Regions from separate parts of the Homo sapiens genome. Here regions 1 and 3 are each linked to region 2. Evidence: promoter capture Hi-C in 16 types of primary human blood cells and fetal thymus (Javierre and others, 2016). All regions are on one chromosome and are shown on one strand. The core of a region is centred on a gene start or on the middle of the fragment in contact, and the rest is flanking DNA. Distances in the headings are between cores, read along the strand shown. Region 1 overlaps CCDC186 (coiled-coil domain containing 186). Region 2 holds the start of DCLRE1A (DNA cross-link repair 1A). Region 3 overlaps CCDC186 (coiled-coil domain containing 186).

The links. Contacts are between HindIII fragments. The CHiCAGO score rates a contact against its expected background, and 5 or more counts as called.
Region 1: a fragment that was not itself captured here is called in contact with the fragment with the promoter of DCLRE1A in region 2 in 1 of 17 cell types (monocytes); the score reaches 7.8 in monocytes.
Region 3: a contact is called between a fragment that was not itself captured here and the fragment with the promoter of DCLRE1A in region 2, in 1 of 17 cell types (naive B cells). The highest score is 5.5, in naive B cells.

Annotation. Positions count from the first base shown.
Region 1 is chr10:114,117,812-114,120,999 of GRCh38, reverse strand. CCDC186 (coiled-coil domain containing 186) reads left to right here. Exons shown (of 16, transcript NM_018017.4): 16 at 1-138. Among named protein-coding and RNA genes, the nearest start is that of MIR2110, 55 kb to the left of the region's middle. The HindIII fragment of the contact is 5,049 bases long and covers 1-3,188 here.
Region 2 is chr10:113,852,561-113,855,538 of GRCh38, reverse strand. It overlaps DCLRE1A (DNA cross-link repair 1A), which reads left to right and starts at 1,457. Exons shown (of 9, transcript NM_014881.5): 1 at 1,457-2,816. The coding sequence starts at 2,357. It overlaps NHLRC2 (NHL repeat containing 2), which reads right to left and starts at 878. Exons shown (of 11, transcript NM_198514.4): 1 at 489-878. The coding sequence starts at 666. RefSeq lists an enhancer at 1-398 and a silencer at 409-768. The HindIII fragment of the contact is 6,407 bases long and covers 1-2,978 here.
Region 3 is chr10:114,144,944-114,148,041 of GRCh38, reverse strand. It overlaps CCDC186 (coiled-coil domain containing 186), which reads left to right. Exons shown (of 16, transcript NM_018017.4): 5 at 2,281-2,493. Among named protein-coding and RNA genes, the nearest start is that of MIR2110, 28 kb to the left of the region's middle. The HindIII fragment of the contact is 320 bases long and covers 1,207-1,526 here.

The sequences.
Region 1 (3,188 bases), core at 385-2,884, 270 kb before region 2:
GTGTGTGTGTGTATTGTACAGATACCTTTAATTTGATTACACTGTTTCTTGTAAATATGTTTCTGTATAAAATGAAACTTTTCAAGAGGATTCTATGTATATATTGTACTTATTAAATAGGTAATGCCTATTTACCAACTTGTAGTTTGATGGCATCTTTATTTGTTTATATGCACCATTTGCTAAACAGACTGATTCTTCAGACTGTTGGCAAGACTGATTCAAATAGCTTCAATTTCCTTTTTTTAACTAGACTGGGAATTTTTGCTTTCTATAGTTGTCTTTATTCTATCAATATGATTGGAAGTCAGTGAACAATAGTAAGCAGATTAAGTTGAATGCTGGGTTGTATTTTAAATTTTTGTTTAAATTATTGACAGCAAAACTTAGCCTGTGTATTAATTGGTTTTCACACTGCTGTAAAGAACTGCCCCAGACTGGGTAATTATAAAGGAAAGAGGTTTAATTGATTCACAGTTCTGCGTTGCTGGGGAGGCCTCAGGAAACTTACAATCATGGTGGAAGAGGAAACAGGCATATCTTACATGGTGGCAGGTGAGAGAGAGAAGAGGGAGGAAGAACTTGCAGACACTTATAAAACCATCAGATCTTGTGAGAACTTACTACCACGAGAACAGCATGGGGGAAACTGTCCCCATGATTCAGTCACCTCCCACCATGTCCCTCCCTCGACACATGGGGATTATGGGGATTGCAATTCAAGATGAGATTTGAGTGGGGACACAGAGCCAGACCATATCAGCCTTTTACAAAAGGTTCTGTGGCCTATAGGTATGTGAAAATTTCTTATTTGATAAGCCAGTGATGTATTCAGATTTTCCATAAAATTATAGAACTCACTTGCCATGTAGTCTAGCTTCAGTAATAAAGAACTAAGTATTTTCAATAAGAAGACACTGAAAGCATTAATTCAATTAAGTGAATATGTGTGGGATGAAATATTTCACATCACAAGGCATTGGTTTCCATTGCTCTAACAGTTCTGGTACACTTAAATTATGCCATATAACTTAATGAGTTCTCTATTGGAAAGAATCTCCTGAAATCAAGATCTGCAGAGTAAGTGTAAAATTAGTAAAGAAAGTTTTCCAACATACTTAACAGTCTGCTTTCAGTAGCCTGTGGATTTGTTCGCAAGAGAAAGGAAGATATAGGGAAAGAGGGTAAATCAAGGAAAGATACTAGCCGTGGTTCTTGATTTAGGTCCACGTAGCAGGAGAGTAGTGACTTGAGGTGATAATTATGAGCAGAGGCTTTTAGTGGCTCCTTTATATTCAATTAACTATGTCAAAGTACCATTCACGTGGTCAGTATGACCTGCAGTCATGAGATGGGAAGGCCATTCTGATGAACTTATATCCAAGTCTGTTTTTTCTTAATAAAATCAGCTTAAGTTAATGAATGCAGAATGAGTACCTGCTCCTTCAGGAGCAGCAACTCAGGAGCGTTCCTCTGTGATTAACTGATACTAATGCTGAGTTTTAATGACTGTCTGAGAATAGTGTGACCAGACTTGATGTTTCTGCCCCGTAGAGATGCTCTGTTATTAATTTCTAACTTACACTTTTTTAAAAAAGTACACTTTTTAAAATTAAAATTTGGCAGTAGTCTGACAATAAAAAAGACTGCTTATGGGATACTGTTATGTTAAACTTCAGTTACAGGATGTTAAATCCTTAGAACTAACTTTTCCCCAGAAAAACGTTAATGGAAACATCAATTGCTTTTTAGACTTGATAGTTATTGCTTCAAAAGGTGAATTTACACAAATACCAAATTAAAAAAAACAAAACTTTAGTACCTAATGAACTGCATTTATTTCTGTATGCATCCACATTTCAGCATGTAGCGGTCCTGAACAGAAAGTGGAAAAACGAAGCAATTTGCCAGAAGGTCAAGCCCACCAATTTCAGGGGTCTGCTGTGCACACCAAGGTCTCAATCCCTGCTGAGGATCTTCAGAAGCAACCGCAATGCCAAAACCAGAATATGCACTGGATTCAAGATTTTGTTCCAATTGTCATATTTTAAACTAGACCCCAATGAATTGGAAGGATGACCAAATGACAGCCCTGTTTAAAACTTCAATTTCTAAAAGCAAAATCAATTACAGAAAAAAATATTACAGAGGGATTATGTGTGCTTATGAGTGTCTTCATGTGGTCTTTCTCCAAGTTTAACCACCAAGGACTTTGAGAGCTGGCAGGTCTGAGTAACCCTGGAGACAATTCACTTTATCAAAACCTGAGCTAAAAACAACGCATCAGCTGATGATGACCGCAGAGAGTGGCAGGACTGAGGACCCAATATTTGTTTTCCAGCCTGGTGGAGAGTGAATAGTGAGGTTCCAAAACTAAACAAGGGAGGTCAGGAAAACTTTCCAACCTTACCTAATGGCTTCTGGCCAAAGCAAGGAAGTGTCATGGAAAGTGTTGGGTGGTGATGGTGCAAAAGGAACTTGAGGAGGAGGGAAGAAAAAGCACCCCTCAAAGCTGGGGAAGAGAAAATATGGAGAAAGCCCTAAATTCCTCATTGAAGGCCAGTCTCGGAAGTGGAGGGGTTATGATCTGTGCTTCAGTCAAAGGTAGGAGTGGAAGAGCATGGGGACAGGATGATGGCTTGGAAGGGGCATCATTTAAGACTTAAACCAGGGGTGCAGGCAAAGCACCCCATGTACCCAGCAGGCTGCCGCCTGAAGCCTTCACATCTACGTATGTTCAATAAGAAGATACTAAAATGGCATTTAATCAAGTTAGCATGCGTGATGGAATATTTCACATCACAAGGCATTGGTTTCCATTGCTCTAACAGTTCTGGTACACTTAAATTATGCCGTGTAACTTAATGAGTTAACTATTGGAAAGAATCCCCTGAAATCAAGATCTGTAGAGTAAGTGTAAAATTAGTAAAGAAACCTTTCCAATGTAATAATCTGCTTTCAGTAGACTGTGGATTTGTTTGCAAGAGAAAGGAAGATTTAGGGCAAGAGGGTAACAAGCACCCCAGAGTAGAGGGCTGTTGCAGGGAGGGTACGAGCTGGGGGGAGGGGCAAGGAGAGAAGGCAGAGAGCCCAGGCCATGTAATCAACAGAAAGGTGATTGTGTGATGTGTCTTTTCACAGTTAGATGTGCCCCACCAGTTATGATGGGAGTCAATTTAAATATACTT
Region 2 (2,978 bases), core at 208-2,707:
CCAAGATCACGCCACTGTACTCCAGCCTGGGAGACAGAGCGAGACTCCGTATCAAAAAAAAACAAAAAAAAACCCTGTGTGTGATACATGAAAAAGTGATCAATAAATGTCAAGATGATGCAGAAAGATGACCAGAAGACACTGGGGAACCAGATTGAATGGACAGAATGGTGTGGACGTTGCAATCATTGCCACCGGGGACACTAAATATTCACGGAGTGTCCACTTGGCTAATATCAGGCGCGGGCGGAACTCAGGATACACAGACGAGTATGTGGATCCCCGTGCCAGGGAAACCCCCGTCGGTGGCCGCTTGGGGACCCCTGGGAATTGCAGAACACGCGAACAGCGGCCCAAGTTAGGCGAAGGGCCACTCCCCGGGGCGCCAGCGGCACAAACCCGCCTAGCCCACCGCTTCGCGGGAGGGCGCCGTCCCCGAGGAAGGGGAGGTGCCGGGAGGGGCCCCCACCCCGACGCCAGCCCCTCACCTTCCGGAAACTCGGGTACTGACAAGTCCTGCTCCCAGCCGTCCACCTTCTGCAGATACTGGTAGACCAGGCTGTCCTTCTCCTGCTGGGTAACGGCGTCGAGCAGGGCGTACTCTAGCGAGGTCTGCGCGGGGAGCAGGCCGGAGAGGCTGCGGCCCCGGCCTCCGGGCGCCGCCATGTTTCCGCCGGGCTCCCGATGCGGCCGCCGGGCCCGCGGGAGAGTCTCGCTGGGAGAGACGAAACGTTCACTGTCCTGTGGTTTCCAAACGGCGCATTCACCTCACCCTCCACTAGCCCCACTCCACGCCAATGACACTTTTTTCTTTTTAAAGCATAGGTCCAAGTGCCAAAAGTCCAAATCGGCGCAGTTCCCGGGGACGTAATTAAACTGCCGTCCGACCCACCCCGCCCCTTTTCGGTCCCCACGCCGCAGCCGAGCCTGGACATTGAGAGCGTCAGATTCAACATGGAATAAGGCCTTAGGGACAGCGTCCCAGAGGCGCTAAGGGAAACATCCCCAACCCTCCACATTGGGAATTAGCGGACTTTCGAACACAAATAAAATACAATAAATCCGTAGGACTTAAAAGGGCAATGTATTTTTAAAAATTATTTTTAAAGTCTCTCTCTTTGAACAGCATCCGCCGATTCGACACGGCACTGGCAGCGGGAACTTGTTCCCGCCAAGACCCTAAAGGTAAAGCGGGTAGGGATAACCTCCAGAGAGAAGGCTTTGTAAACTGGAAGTGACTGGCGCGAGTGGCTTTCACTTATACACAAACACAGCGTTTTGTCATCTGGGAGTGCTGAAAGTGCGGGCGCGAACACATTTTTAGATGGGGGTGCCGGGAGGAGCGGATGCAGCTGGAGCGGCTCCCTTGGGGTGCCGAGTGGCAGGTGGGGGGCGGTGAGGGTCCTTGAGGGCGGGCCTTAGAGTCTTCAGAAGGGCAGGACTCTGAGGGCTTTTTGGAGCTCGCTATGCTTAACCTGGAGATGATTAAGGCCCCGCTTCCTGGCCTCCCAGCCTCTAATGCCAAAAGATAAGGGAGAGGCTGGCGTGTGACCCCGTTTTGAGTCAGGTGGACAGAGGGCTGGCCACCTTCGGAACCATGGGTGCAATACGGAGTCAGACCTCAATACAAGCCCACTCTTTCACATATTTGAACTTTTTTCACATATCAACTTTTTTTGTTCACTGTGCAGGGATTGTTCATTGCTGCTGGAGGAAGATCATGGACTGTCGCGGGAAACTGAAGTGGTTGAGTATCCACTAGTCGTGGATGAGGGCAGTGACTTCGCAGTTTTTTGCGAATTACACATCTCTTTGATTATGTTGTGACTAGTTTTGTTAGATAGTCATTTAGTGTTTGGGATACCTGTTAAGCCCTTTGTCCAGGGACTGTGGTTGGATTTATGAATTATTTGGACGGTTGTCCACTTGAAAGAACTGACAGTAGCTTCATAACAATGTTACAAATCTCGTTCTAAGATTAAGCTGTTGAACCTATATTTGCCATTAGCGCTTAATTTTTGAAGTATTATTTTTATGAATCAAGCCCTGGAAAAGGACAAGATATTTGAATGAAATAGCACCCATAATGGAGAACTTCACAGTTGCTACTCCTGTGATAGGTTTATCTTAGTTTCATTGTGGTATAAATGGAATAGCAGGTGTTGTCAGGTACAAGGTTTGTAGCTTGCCAATATGTTCATTACCAACACTGCAGATTCCCATTGAGTTGGTGGGGGTTTTGTTACCTTTGTTTTTTTTCTCAGCAAAATAATTCTATAACTTTTTGTTTGTGACAAGAAATGGACTTTCAGTTTACTTAAGATTAATACTTCTTGAATGATAAAATCATTTTGCCATGTTAGAAGACATTTCCGAAGAAGACATTTGGGAATACAAATCTAAAAGAAAACCAAAACGAGTTGATCCAAATAATGGCTCTAAAAATATTCTAAAATCTGTTGAAAAAGCAACAGATGGAAAATACCAGTCAAAACGGAGTAGAAACAGAAAAAGAGCCGCAGAAGCTAAAGAGGTGAAGGACCATGAAGTGCCCCTTGGAAATGCAGGTTGTCAGACTTCTGTTGCTTCTAGTCAGAATTCAAGTTGTGGAGATGGTATTCAGCAGACCCAAGACAAGGAAACTACTCCAGGAAAACTCTGTAGAACTCAAAAAAGCCAACACGTGTCCCCAAAGATACGTCCAGTTTATGATGGATACTGTCCAAATTGCCAGATGCCTTTTTCCTCATTGATAGGGCAGACACCTCGATGGCATGTTTTTGAATGTTTGGATTCTCCACCACGCTCTGAAACAGGTAAGACTGCAGAAAACGTAGTAGTTTCTAAATAATCTAAAAAGTCTTCATTAGGTCAGACATACCAATTCAGTGAAACAAGGAAGGCAAGCAGTAACCTAAAAGAGAGATGAGACACTGGGAAACACCATACCAGTCAACGGTATAATTGTAAAGCAAATG
Region 3 (3,098 bases), core at 117-2,616, 290 kb before region 2:
ACCTTAGCCCTCCCAAATAGCTGGGACTACAGGTGCACACCACCATGCCCAGCTAATTTTGTTTTTTGTTTTTTTTGTAGATAGGGGATTTTGCCATGTTGTCCAGGCTGGTCTCAAACTCCTGGGCTCAGGCGATCTGCTCACCTCAGTCTCCCAAAGTGCTGGGATTACAGGCATGACTCCTTGCATCCAGCCAAGACCCTCATAATATTTCACCTTGTCTATTACAACTGTCTTTTTTTGATTATTTTCTACCCCCTATCTCTCAACTTCAGTGAAGCTCCCATGCTGCTACCAGTTATCTTACTAAAACACACATTTTAATAAGAGCTTCTGATTTATAAATTCTTCTTTGGCTTTATGTTGACTATGGAATAAAACCTCAACTTATTACCATGACAGAAATTCTTCTTCCTTTGAGGATCTAATCTATACCTCTTTTTGTTTTTATAACTACTTTCTTCCCACTCCAGCCAACACACCAAATTTAAGCCCAATAAAATAACTTGATATCTCCTAAATGTGTCATGCTGTTTTATACTTTTAGGTGTTTGCACATGATATTCACTCTATTTTTAATTCCTTTCCTTGATTCACCCCTTACATTCTATAGAATTCTGCTTAGCCTTTAATACCTAGCTCAAGTATAGCATCTTTTACCCTTCCTGCCAACTCCTCCCAGGGGATGTAAGTATTTTCATGTTTTGAAGGACTTTGTACATTCATTTACTATAATTTTTCATATTATAATGTTTGTTTATATGCCTTTCTCACTAGATGGTGAGCTCTTTCAGAGGCCACAACTGCTACTTTGTTTCCAATAGATGATACATTATCTGAATATTAAATTATTATGAAACCAGACTTCTCTTAAAGTTGACATTGAGCTATTGACTTTTTCTAAGTACAGATATTCAGTTGTCTAAAAATCTAATTCTGTTGGCCAAGTCCAGCATAACTTTCTCAGTCTTTGTCTACAAGCACATTGTTACAACCTCGGGGCCTATCATATCCCTAATGCAATGTCTTTCTTAATTTGAAAATTAGTATGACTATTTCAATGGAAACAAATCCCAATTGGGAGATTTTTAAAATTACTTATATGTGTATGTATAGCATTCTCAGTGTTGACTAGATGTGCTTATCAGCAGTGCCAGAATTTTATGAAACATTTTTGCAGCCATTTTTCATCAAAGCATAGAAGCTTTCCCTACATTCTGCTCACTTTATTTTAATAGTTACCTTCTTCAATTCAGTTGCATCATCAGTGTTTATTTACCACTAAAAGATATTGAAAATTCCTAAAGTTTGAAGTTCTATCTTTTGTAAATTAAATGTGTGCTTCACCATATTTGCAAACCATGAGTTACTTCAAAGAAGGACTATTTGTAGAAGTTTTCATTCTGTGAAATTTCAGAATATGGAGTACCAGTTCATACTAATAGAAAATTTTTAAATGAGTATATAGTTTTCATACTTAATCCAGTTAGGTATTTCTTATTAAGTGTAAAATGCTTCAGAAAGCTTTACATAAATAGGAAATTAAATGGTCATTTGTTAGCATATGGCTACTTAATTTTCGAAAGGGAGTTAAGATTTTAGAAATTGTCGGCTATACAGTCAGGGTCCTGGCAGAAAACAGATGGCACACTTAAACCGGTGATGAAGATAATTTAATAAAAAGATTCTTTGTCAAGGTGTGGACAAGATGTAGGGATCCCAAAAAGGGAAGATGCAGAATTTCAGGGCTGCTGGACAAGGAGCAGGTATTACACCCCAGAGGGTAGTTGTATAGAGAGGGCACCTGACAAGGGGAGTGGCCATCAGCCAACCTGTGGGAACTCTGGAGGAGCCAGATCTCACTCTGCCTACGTTCCCAAGCTTCTGCCTACTGCCTTCTGTTGGGTGAACCCAACTGGAAGTTTGAGGGCAAGAGAGCTTATTGATAGGGTTCATGATGTCATCATGTTCCTGGGACACCAGTTGGGATTTAAAAAAAGTGGGAAAGGGGATCTGGAGGAGTACGTGGAAAATAGCAACCATATTAGCCGAAGTAAAAGGAACAGGAAAGGGTAAAGGCAAATGCTAGGGATATTGTACCATTTTTCTATAATTTTAAATTTTTTCTTTCATTTTAAAATTTCATGGCACAAGTCCTGGGAATGTTGTGCAAAAACCAAACAATGCATTGGTAATATAAGAGACAAATACCATGTATTTCAATACATTTCCATTTGAAACATTATTTTTCATTAATGCTAAGTAATATTTTTTTTGAAGGCCAACAAGAAATGTGAAGAGGCACGCCAAGAAAAAGAAGCAATGGTAATGAAATATGTAAGAGGTGAGAAGGAATCTTTAGATCTTCGAAAGGAAAAAGAGACACTTGAGAAAAAACTTAGAGATGCAAATAAGGAACTTGAGAAAAACACTAACAAAATTAAGCAGCTTTCTCAGGAGAAAGGACGGTTGCACCAGCTGTATGAAACTAAGGTATAACTTGTGCCATTTGAAATATGTTGACCTTATTTGAAATTTGTTCTCTTTGCTTTTCCATATTTAATCAAATAATCATAATTTAACATGGTTAACACTCAAACGTAAAGTTGTTTTTATTAGTTTACCTTCTAAAACCATGAATTTTTTAGTAATTCAAGTGTTCTATTACTTGTCTGCAGAGAAAAGGTTTGCTAGGGAAAAAATAAGTGTTGGCACATGTTGTTTATTAGATAACTTTTTCTTGAGCTTTCTAAAAACTTTCTTTTAAAATCTGTATGTTGGAGAAATTTGCATCTCAAGGGAAGATTATATTTTGGTAAAATATGTATATAGTAGTGTAAAATGAATAGTTTTAGAACCAGAAGTATAATTTGATATAATCTTAATATAACACATCACCATAGAAGAAAATTTATGTTTTTCTTACAGAAAAACATGTCTTTCTTAGATACTATCTAAAGAGATTTAGTTACTGAGCCAGCTATTCAGAACCCTTCCTGTTAACTAGCAGCCTCTCAATGGTCATATTTCCAGGGCATTATCATTTTTCAATGATAAATTTTTTTTTAATTCATTAGCTTTTAGTTCAGGAATATTGT